Regions from separate parts of the Homo sapiens genome. Here regions 2 and 3 are each linked to region 1. The links are contacts of gene promoters, found by promoter capture Hi-C in blood cells and fetal thymus (Javierre and others, 2016). All regions are on one chromosome and are shown on one strand. Each heading gives the region's core, a stretch centred on a gene start or on the middle of the fragment in contact. The rest is flanking DNA. Distances are from core to core; before and after follow the strand shown.

Region 1 (3,423 bases), core at 760-3,259:
GACAGGCTGTTCTCGAACCCCTGATCAAGTGATCTACCCACCTTGGCCTCCCAAAGTGCTGGGATTACAGGCATGAGCCACTGCACCTGGCCAATATTCTAAGTAATGCTTCCAACTGTGACATTTTAGTGCAAGTAACCCACCTCAGTGGTTTAAGGAAAGGCTAAGACACCTCATGTAATGTGTAATGAGGTTAGTGCGATGTGTTGACACTTAGACATTTCTAAACATTAACAAAAGCTTTTGTGAGAGAAATAAAATAGTTATTGAACCACTGCCTGTCCAATAAAAATGTCCCTAACCATTTTCTATAACTATAATGTGCATGAACATAATTACCCTAATAAACACATGAAAGCCACCATAACTGTTAACAGTTGCCATGTAATTTAATAAAGTTATGTCACACACGTGCACTCACACATTCACAATGACCCTCCGGCCCCAGTGTTCTTCAAGCCTTTGCACCAGTGCATGGGAGGAGAGCACGCTCTACAGGTTAGACTTCTGATCAAATCCTGCCTCTGATACTACTCACTGTGGGACCTAGGCAGGTGTCTTAACCTCTCTGAGCCCTGGGATCTGAATTTTTTTTTTTTTTTTTTTTTGAGGCGGAGTCTCGCTCTGTCGCCCAGGCTGGAGTGCAATGGCACGATCTCGGCTCACAGCAAGCTCCGCCTCCCGGGTTCACGCCATTCTCCATTCTCCTGCCTCAGCCTCCCGAGTATCTGGGACTACAGGCGCCTGCCACCACGCCTGGCTAAATTTTTTTTGTATTTTTAGCAGAGACGGGGTTTCACCGTGTTAACCAGGATGGTATCGATTTCCTGACTTCGTGTTCCGCCCGTCTCGGCCTCCCAAAGTGCTGGGATTACAGGCGTGAGCCACTGCTCCTGGTCGGGATCTGCATTTTAAAAATGAGGATAACGGTATCTGTCTCCTAAAGGTTTGGGGAGGCTGCAATGAGAAAACTTAGGGTAGGTGCCTGGCACCAAGCAGGTGCTGCTTGGGTATTTCAGAGCCTCTGGGCTGTGGCAGGGGCCTTGCAGGGTTATCCTGGGTAACTTCCCATCCAAAGCAAAAATTTCTTCCTCAGCAACCCTGTCAAATGGCCTCTGCTTGAATCATTCCAGGACAGGAACCTAGCACCTCACAGGCCGGCAGTTCCATCTCCTGTAGAGTCGAACTGTTGGGAAGCTAAAATTTTGAGTAGAATCCTCTCCCTTAATTCTTAATTTATCCCTCTGGTGCCCTTGTGCCTCCCAGCACCCATCCCCCAAGAAAGGAGACAGCGGCTACAGGGCTAGAGGAGCCCACACCCGGGAGCTGGTCCCTCGGCCACCTGCAAGCGGACGACAGCCTCGGGCCCTCCCCAGCGCTCCATTTCTTCCCCGTCGGATGAGGGGGAAAGCTCCCGCCAGCTGCCCCTCCCCCAGGACTGCTGGAACACGGAATGCGGGGCTGGGGGAAGCGCCTGGGGAACTGCGAAGCCCCAAATTCACACCAAGGAGCCTCAGGCTCGCTCTCCAGTCCCTTCCTCCACCTGCCCTCAGGGTACACAGGGGCAAGGGCCACTGCTCCCGCCGCGTCTGAGCCGCAGGGGATGCAGAGGGACTGCGCTCTCGGGATCTGGACCAGAGGCTGGAGGCCACCTACCCCGCGCGGCCCTGGCTGGCTGACGGCGATGGGCTCGGGTCTCCGGCCGGCCGGGGCGGGGTGTCACCCACCTGCTGCGGCGCCGCGCGGCTCTGGGGGTCCAGCTCCGTGGGCGCTCCTGGCTGCTGCGCCGCCCGCGCCTCGCCTCCCGCCGCCAGCCTCCCCCGGGCCGCTCCACGTGGCCGCTCCACGTCGCCCTCCCGGCTGGAGCCGCCGCCCTGGCCGGGCAGAGTCCGGAGCCAGTGCCAGCCGCCGCCCCGCCCGCCGGACCTGGCCCTTCGCAGCTCCACCAGCGCCCCCGCTGCGCCCGCGGCCGGAGGGGCTGCGCGCGCCCGTGTGAGTGTGCGCGTGTGTGCGTGCGTGAGTGCGCATGTGCGCGTGTGCGAGTCCGCGTGTGCTCGTGAGTGCGCTCGTGTGCTTGTGCGGGTGTGCACATGCGTGTGACATTGTGAGCGTGAGTGTGAGCATGTGTAAGGATGCACGTGTGTGAGCGTGCATGTGTGCGCGGATGTGTGCGTGTGCCTGTATGCACACATGTGAGTACAGAGAGACCAAGAGACAGTGAGGCCAGTGTGCATCAGAAGTATGTTTAACTGTGCTCATGCTTTGGTTGCCACTTTCTCTGCCTGAGGGACCCAGATGTATGTGACAAAATGGAACCTAACTTACTGTTAGCATGTGCGGTTGTGACTGGCATGTGTGGCTCTGTGTATGAGGAATTTGTGACACGGTAGGGGGTATTTTGTGTGACTGTGCATCCGTGTGATAGTGTGGGCTTCAGGGGCCGGGCGTGGTGGCTCACACCTGTAATCCCACCACTTTGGGAGGCCAAGGCGGGTGGATCACGAGGTCAGGAGATGGAGACCATCCTGGTTAACACAGTGAAACCCCGTCTCTACTGAAAATACAAAAACATTAGCCGGGCATGGTGACGGGCGCCTGTAGTGTCAGCTACTCGGGAGGCTGAGGCAGGAGGATGGCATGAACCTGGGTGGTGGAGCTTGCAGTGAGCCGAGATCACGCCACTGCACTCCAGCCTGGGTGACAAAGCAAGACTGAGACTCCGTCTCAATAAATAAATAAATAAATAAAAAATAAATGATAGTGTGGGCTTCAGGGTATGGCCAATGTGTGACTGACTGCCCAGGGGTGTGGCGGTGCAGAGTGTTAGAGGCATATGTATTGGGGTGTCAGGGTGAACTCTTCCTGAGTTGTTTGTGACACTCCATCACAGCGACACTGTCATCACAGCGACAAGCCCACTCTCATCCTGTCCTCCTCCCAGTGATGAACACTGCTTGTCACTGCCTTTTTAGATCACGGATTCTGCTGGTTTCGGCAATACCTCTCCTACCTCTGGTCATTTCAAAAAGGTCTCCATTTTCTTCACCGTCAGAGTTCCTCAGGGCCCTCTCCTCACTTTCCATCTGCTCATGTGCTCATCTGCTCACCTAGCTCCCATCACTGTTATGCATTGACTCGTGTCCTTCACAAAGTTATATGTTGAAGTCTTAACCTCCAATACCTCAGACTGTGACCTTATTTGGAAATAGGGTCATTGCAGATGTAATCCATTAAGATGAGGTCATACTGGAGTAGGGTGGGCCCCTAATCAATATGACTGGTGTTCATATCAAAAGAGGAAATGTGGACACAGACACACACATAGGAAGAACATTGCTATGGCCTGAATATCCCACCAAATTCATGTGCTGAAACTTAGTCCCCATTGTGGTGATATTAAGAGGAGGAAGCCAGGCACAGTGG
Region 2 (3,675 bases), core at 11-2,510, 81 kb after region 1:
TGTTCAAGACCAGAGCCTTGTGGAATGGAAAAAAAAATCCAGGGCAACAGGTTTAAGACCCATTAGGAGACAATATTGTCGTCATGAATATAAATGAGGCCTAGGCAGGTTGGGAGTAGCTAGTGTCTTGGCTCTGGCACAACCAGGCCCTGTTCCTCCACAGGGCTGGCCAGGGCAGAGGTGAAAGGGGCTGGGGTGTGACCGAGTGAGCTGGGGTAGAGGTAGAAAAAGGGACACAGAACATCCCAGGCCTAAGCTACATGGAGTATGAGAGAACAGCTGGAATGTGCTCTAGAAGCCCTGGGAGAAGGCCTCAGTTGAGGCTGAATTCAGATATGCCTGGGACCCGGTCTCTGTTAAGAGACCCCGGAGAGCTGGTGCAGAGCTGATGTGGGCAGCTGAACAGGGCCAGGCAGGGGCAGAGGCCAGGTGTGGGAGGGTGTGAGCACAGTGTTCTTCACAAGACCATAAAAGTCCAGCTAGAATGTTCCGTTTCTAAAATCAGATGGGAACATTCTTCCTCCAGTTCCAAAAGTAAAAATCTGAGAGCAAAAGGTTCTGGCAAAGGGAAAGTGGGGCCGGAGAAGGGACAGACTAAGTAAGCCCCAGGGGATGAGAAGCCCTAGGAGAGGGTGTGCATCTTCTACCATGGTGAGCACAACACTGTCCCCTGCAGACACAGGGACAGCAGGGACTTGAAGCCACAGCCCCCCTCCTCAGCACAGGAAGGTGACCTGTACATAGGATAGGACTCCTTATCCTCACCAGAGGATGCAGTAGGGTGGACAAGAGCAGGTGAAGACAGTACAGGAGCCCAAATTCTAGGTCCAATGGTAGTTTTTATTCCCCAGGAACAAAGATAATGTGGAGAAGAAACTCCAAAAGGAAACAGAGCACGGATGACAGAAATGACACCACGGCAGCCTGGCTCAGGAGTCAGGTAGATAGATGGCTGCTCCACAGTGGACCCGGTCATGGCCCTGGTTTCTTGGATCCACATTTGCCCCGTCTCTTAAGTGTCCATCTCAGAGGTGGAGGATGGAGACAGTGAGGTGGAAAACGTGCTTGCTCTACACAAAGACAAATGGATCTTCTATTCCCAGAGGACCAGGGACACCAAAACCTCCCTCTTCAGAATGGAGGTAGACAGATAAAAATGAGAGGGGCTTGAGTGTCACAGACAATCTGAAAGTAATAATAGGGGCTCACTGTGGCTGGCAGAACTGGTACTGAAATGGGGACTACAGGGGAAGCAGCTTCCAGTTTTATGGTGGAGAGTCAGTCCTGAATCAGGCCCTGGGGCAATTATAACCAGAGTGCTGTTTCTAGCCACTTACTTCAAAGGACTATGGCTATGTTGAATCAGAAGCCATTATCTTTTTCCCAGAGGATGCACTTCCATCCCTATTTCTGGCATGATCCTGCTCCCTACGAGCCTGATCCTTTAAAAAACAGATTGGCAAGCGACGAGAAAAACGGTGCCTCACATGCTTGAGATGTGACAGCTTCTCCTGCAGGCAAGAACCTCTCAGAACAAGGTCCTTTGGTATGAGCTAGATCATCCAGGCCTGTCCCTGCAGAACACACCAAGACTCATCCCTGTACTACAGGGTGGCCTCTGGCTATGGCCTGGCACAGTGAGGACAGAGGCGGGGTCCTGAGTCAACATCACAGGGAGGTCTCCTGGAGGATGCAGGTGGAGCTGCTCCCCTGATAGGCTGTGCCATCCAGGGCCATGGCCTCCTTGTCTCTGCTGTCCCCCAGCACACCATTCCTCGGCTTCTCAGGAAACAGGCCAGTGTCGAGGTGGTCCTGCAAACACAGAGCCAAAGGGGTGGAACTGGTGAAGACGGATGACGGGTGCTTGACAGGATTCACACAAAAAAGGTCCCCGCCAGAAGGGAGCCCAGCAAGGCTGGGTTCGGGAGGGAGAGCAGGGGGAAAAGAGGGAGGGCATAGCACAGCAGGGAGCACAGGGTGGGCTGGGGAGGGGAGCTGACTGGCCCAGGCTGGGGCTGAGCTCCTCTGAGCCCTGAGATCCTTCTGCCCACCAAGCCAGTGCAGTCCTGTGGGTAGAACCTGAGACAGCCGTGTGGGACAGCCTAGGCTTAGCTGATCCTGAGAGAGGCACCCGGGGCAGGGGGAGAGAAAAGGGGTAGAAGGGAACCTGAAGAGTCAGTGGCATCTGTGGAGAAGGGCAGGGAGGGGTCACTTGGACAGCAGGTACTACCTGGCCGTAGCTCCTGCAGTGGAGCCGCTTCTGACAGGACAACGGAAGGAGGGACAGGAGCTTTGGCAACACTGGGTAAATGGTTGCAGGGTTCAGGGACCGGCCTCGCATTCTCCCTGAATGGAAATGTGCTTCTGAGTCTCTGGGTGGAACCATCCACAGCAGCGGGCCCCATGTCCTCCCTTGGCCCCCAGAGACCCCAGCCCCCACCCACCTCCTACATCCCAGCAGAAAAGCCTGACAGCTACGGACACCCAAGAGCTCAGAGGGCAGGAGCCTTTCTCCCTAGAGTCCCTTAGGGCCCTCTGTTAACCCCTCGGTGCTCATCTGCACCGCAATCCCACACCCTTACCAGTGAGTAGACTGACAATCAGGCCCACCACAATCACTGTGGTGGAGTTGTGAGCACTGTACCATAAGTAAGACAAGGAATAGAACCGCTGCAGCCCTGTGGGCCTGGGAAGAGCAGAGGTGAGAACAATTAGCAATTCGTTGGCAGGGCATTCCTTGGGCACCAATCTCTACTTGCCCGCATGGTCCCAGGGTCTTGGGACCCAATACCCAACATTTCCCTGGGGCCTCTGGTGGCCCATCCCTTAGCAAGACCCCTGTGAAAGCCCTCAAAGGAGGGCTTTGAGAAAACAAGAAGATAGCAAGCCCTGCCTTACTTGGAGAAGGTAGTCAAGGGCATCAGTGTGGTCACAGTGGCAACGGTTAGATTGGTGGGCAGGGAGAAGCTGGACCCATTAGAGGGAGAGGGTGGCATGCTGGAGCCCATGCTGGTCACGATGCTCCCGATGCCAATCCAGAAGGCCATGACGAGCCCAGCCAACAGGCCCACAACAGCACCCTGCCGAGACACAGTGCAGGCCTGTCACAAGGCCAGTCCTGCCAGCCCTCACGGCAGTCCTCAGCTCTCCTGGTGACAGCCCTGCCAACCCCCAGGTCCATCCTGCTACACATGACTGTGGATCCAGATGCATCACTCACAGGAGGGTTAGCACATGGAAAGAACATTCCAAGGCAGAAGAGTCCCAGCAGCGGTCCCCCAACCATGCCAAAGATGCTGATTGCTGCCTAGGAGGACAGGGTGAGAAGAAAAGGAAAAAGAACACAGACTCAGAGATGCCCAGACTCACCATAAAGCATAGCCACCAGCCATGACCTTGGAGCCCCACTTGTCAGATCTGTCTCTTCTGTGGGAACAATCAGAACTCCAGAGGTGGCCGAGCGGTGGCTCATGCCTGTAATTCCAGCAGTTTGGGAGGCCGAGGCGGGAGGATCACCTGAGGTCAGGAGCTCCAGACTAGCCTGGCCAACATGGTAAAACCCCGTCTCTACTACAAATACAAAAATTAGCCAGACACGGTGGCACATGCCTGTAGTCCCTCAGCTACTTAGGAGGCTGAGACAGGAGAATCACTTGAATGTGGGAGGTGGAGGTT
Region 3 (3,297 bases), core at 124-2,623, 120 kb after region 1:
TGGGGCTTATGACAGTCAGTGACCCTGAACCCTGCTCAGTCTGATCCCCCAGAGCTGAGGACGGAGAGGAAGAGTCTAGGCCTATAGATAGTGTCAGCAAGGCCAACCTGCAGAAGGCCTGACCAGTCTTCTCTGCCCCAGGATGACCAGCTGAAAGTTATTGAATGCAACGTACGTGTCTCTCGCTCCTTCCCCTTCGTTTCCAAGACACTGGGTGTGGACCTAGTAGCCTTGGCCACGCGGGTCATCATGGGGGAAGAAGTGGAACCTGTGGGGCTAATGACTGGTTCTGGAGTCGTGGGAGTAAAGGTAAGGAATATCGAAACCCTTGGGGTTAGCAGAAAAATAGCGGGAGAGAGTTCACTCACCACACAGAGTTGTCAGTATGTAAACCAGGCACTGACTGCAAGGCATTGCCGGATCGTGGGGGTAATGAGGTGGTCATTGTCCCTTAAGAGCTTACTTTATGGTAATGGGAGGGAAGAGAAGTTGGATCCCCAAAAAAGCTTTGGTATAGAACAGTCCGTGGTAAAACTACATATTCGACCTGTAAACAGAATGCTGCAGGAGTTCAAGAGACAGGAGGTGCTGCTTCCAAAAGGGGTGATCTGGGAAGGCTTGAGCGAAGGGGTGCTATTTGAATTGAGTTTTGAAGGATGGTTAAGGTTTTTTATTTGCAAGGGCACATCCTAAGCAGAAGCTGAGGGATGACCCCAAGTACGTTTGGAAAGCAGGAGGGCACACAGAGAGGGCAGGCTGACCCTGCCATTCAGATGGGATCAAGCACAGGGTACTGTGTCCGTCTCTGCTGGTGAGGGAGGAGGTCCTCTCACACCTTGGCCCTCTCTCTTCCCTCCCGCCCCTTTAGGTGCCTCAGTTCTCCTTCTCCCGCTTGGCGGGTGCTGACGTGGTGTTGGGTGTGGAAATGACCAGTACTGGGGAGGTGGCCGGCTTTGGGGAGAGCCGCTGTGAGGCATACCTCAAGGCCATGCTAAGCACTGGCTTTAAGATCCCCAAGAAGAATATCCTGCTGACCATTGGCAGCTATAAGGTATCAGAATCCAGGAGGGCTTCCCGAGGGCCGTGGCTCCCTGGGCCAGGGCTGACCTTGAAATGGAAGACAGGAAGAAAACAATTTCATCCTTCTGTTTGGTTTCAGAACAAAAGCGAGCTGCTCCCAACTGTGCGGCTACTGGAGAGCCTGGGCTACAGCCTCTATGCCAGTCTCGGCACAGCTGACTTCTACACTGAGCATGGCGTCAAGGTGCAGGAACTCTGGCAACCTACCCCACTGCTGCCCTTCCCCAAGGGGGTGAAAATACTGCACCAAAGAATTATCTGGGCTGGGCACGGTGGCATATACCTGTAGTCCCAGATACTCAGGAGGCTAAGGCAGGAGAATCTCTTGAGCCCAGGAGGTAGAGGCTGCAGTGAGCTGCGAGTGTGCAGTGAGTGCACCACTGCACTCCAGCTTGGGAAACAGTGAGATGCTGTCTCAAAAAAAAAAAAAACAAAGAATTATCTCCTATTCCCCTGCTTTTATTATTACCATTATACTAGTAAGCTATATTCCATGCAGAAAGCAGAATACACAGGAAGCAAAGAGAAAAGTCTCTTAAAATCTCTGTACCACTGTTCTGATATTTTTCCTTCCAGGATTTTCTCTGTGTACATGTGTGTGAGCTCATACTGCACCTAGTCCTTGGTAACCCATCTTACTTAGTGTAGATATCTTTCCTGCCAAGAAATACACTTTGCCAGTATCAAATAGAGGCAGCCCTCAGTGCCCACCCTATGGGTCCTCAGTCTCCTCATCATGGGCTCCTGGGCCAGCTCCTCTCCCTTAAGGCTAGCCTTCCTGACCGCTGCCAGACAGCTTGGCCCTGACCTTGACTCCGGGTTGGCAGGTAACAGCTGTGGACTGGCACTTTGAGGAGGCTGTGGATGGTGAGTGCCCACCACAGCGGAGCATCCTGGAGCAGCTAGCTGAGAAAAACTTTGAGCTGGTGATTAACCTGTCAATGCGTGGAGCTGGGGGCCGGCGTCTCTCTTCCTTTGTCACCAAGGGCTACCGCACCCGACGCTTGGCCGCTGACTTCTCCGTGCCCCTAATCATCGATATCAAGTGCACCAAACTCTTTGTGGAGGTAACTGAGACCCATGTGCTGGGAGGGAGACTGCCAGTGTTGATGGGAAGAAGAAAGAGGGAGGAGTGAGTATGGAACAGCCATGCTAGTAATAAAGCTTTGTGGCTACAGAGGGAGAGATGGTGGGTATAGAGTGTGCAGAGCCTGGTTTATGGGAAAACCACATCTCTCCCTACAACTCCCAGGATCACCCTTCCCTTAAAGCTGACTGCTTTCCACTTGCAGGCCCTAGGCCAGATCGGGCCAGCCCCTCCTTTGAAGGTGCATGTTGACTGTATGACCTCCCAAAAGCTTGTGCGACTGCCGGGTAAGTCTTTGGGGAGAACTTGGCTTCTGAACACTGGCAGCCCCTGGCATAGAGACCTGCAGTGTGGTGAAGGATGGCTGGGGGGCCCACTCTTTGTCCTGGACTGCACAGACTGTGAAGACCCCAGAATGTTTCTCACTCTTTCATTCCTTAATCCACAGTGTCCACAGTGGCCTTGTCTGAGGAATTTTTTTTTTTTTTTTTTTTTTGAGACAGAGTCTTACTCCATCGCCCAGGTTGGAGTGCAGTGGTGTGTGATATCGGCTCACTGCAACCTCCGCCTCCCAGGTTCAAGCGATTTTCCTGCCTCAGCCTCCCAAGTAGCTGGGATTACAGGTGTGTGCTACCACACCAGGCTAATTTTTGTGTTTTTAGTAGAGACGGGGTTTCACCATGTTGGTCAGGTTGGTCTCGAACTCCTGATCTCAGGTGATCTGCCCACCTCGGCCTCCCAAAGTGCTAGGATTACAGGCGTGAGCCACCATGTCCAGCTCACCCTTCCTATTTCTGAATCTTCCTGTAATCTTGCTGCTTCCATTTTCTCCCAGGATTGATTGATGTCCATGTGCACCTGCGGGAACCAGGTGGGACACATAAGGAGGACTTTGCTTCAGGCACAGCCGCTGCCCTGGCTGGGGGTATCACCATGGTGTGTGCCATGCCTAATACCCGGCCCCCCATCATTGACGCCCCTGCTCTGGCCCTGGCCCAGAAGGTGAGCCACTGCACTCTTCCTGGTATTGGAGACCCATATGCCCCTACCAGCCACCCTTGCTTCCCTGAGCCCTTTTCCTTCTGCCCCGCCCTATGGGCCCAGGCCACTGGTGCCAGGCTAGCCTGTGT

The links. Contacts are between HindIII fragments. The CHiCAGO score rates a contact against its expected background, and 5 or more counts as called.
Region 2: a contact is called between a fragment that was not itself captured here and the fragment with the promoter of CGREF1 in region 1, in 8 of 17 cell types (M2 macrophages, M1 macrophages, megakaryocytes and 5 more). The highest score is 11.1, in M2 macrophages.
Region 3: a contact is called between a fragment that was not itself captured here and the fragment with the promoter of CGREF1 in region 1, in 6 of 17 cell types (naive B cells, M1 macrophages, M2 macrophages and 3 more). The highest score is 7.2, in naive B cells.

The regions. Positions count from the first base shown.
Region 1 is chr2:27,117,119-27,120,541 of GRCh38, forward strand. CGREF1 (cell growth regulator with EF-hand domain 1) reads right to left here and starts at 2,010. Exons shown (of 6, transcript NM_006569.6): 1 at 1,728-2,010. LOC124907744 (a long non-coding RNA gene) reads left to right here. Exons shown (of 2, transcript XR_007086252.1): 2 at 1-367. RefSeq lists enhancers at 942-1,442, 1,443-1,943. The HindIII fragment of the contact is 4,689 bases long and covers 239-3,423 here.
Region 2 is chr2:27,198,768-27,202,442 of GRCh38, forward strand. It overlaps SLC5A6 (solute carrier family 5 member 6), which reads right to left. Exons shown (of 17, transcript NM_021095.4): 13 at 3,221-3,307; 14 at 2,899-3,080; 15 at 2,583-2,686; 16 at 2,231-2,346; 17 at 820-1,812. The coding sequence ends at 1,669. Among named protein-coding and RNA genes, the nearest start is that of ATRAID, 11 kb to the right of the region's middle. The HindIII fragment of the contact is 6,317 bases long and covers 1-3,675 here.
Region 3 is chr2:27,234,377-27,237,673 of GRCh38, forward strand. CAD (carbamoyl-phosphate synthetase 2, aspartate transcarbamylase, and dihydroorotase) reads left to right here. Exons shown (of 44, transcript NM_004341.5): 23 at 142-309; 24 at 869-1,051; 25 at 1,160-1,264; 26 at 1,908-2,147; 27 at 2,373-2,454; 28 at 3,003-3,169. Among named protein-coding and RNA genes, the nearest start is that of CAD, 19 kb to the left of the region's middle. The HindIII fragment of the contact is 1,738 bases long and covers 505-2,242 here.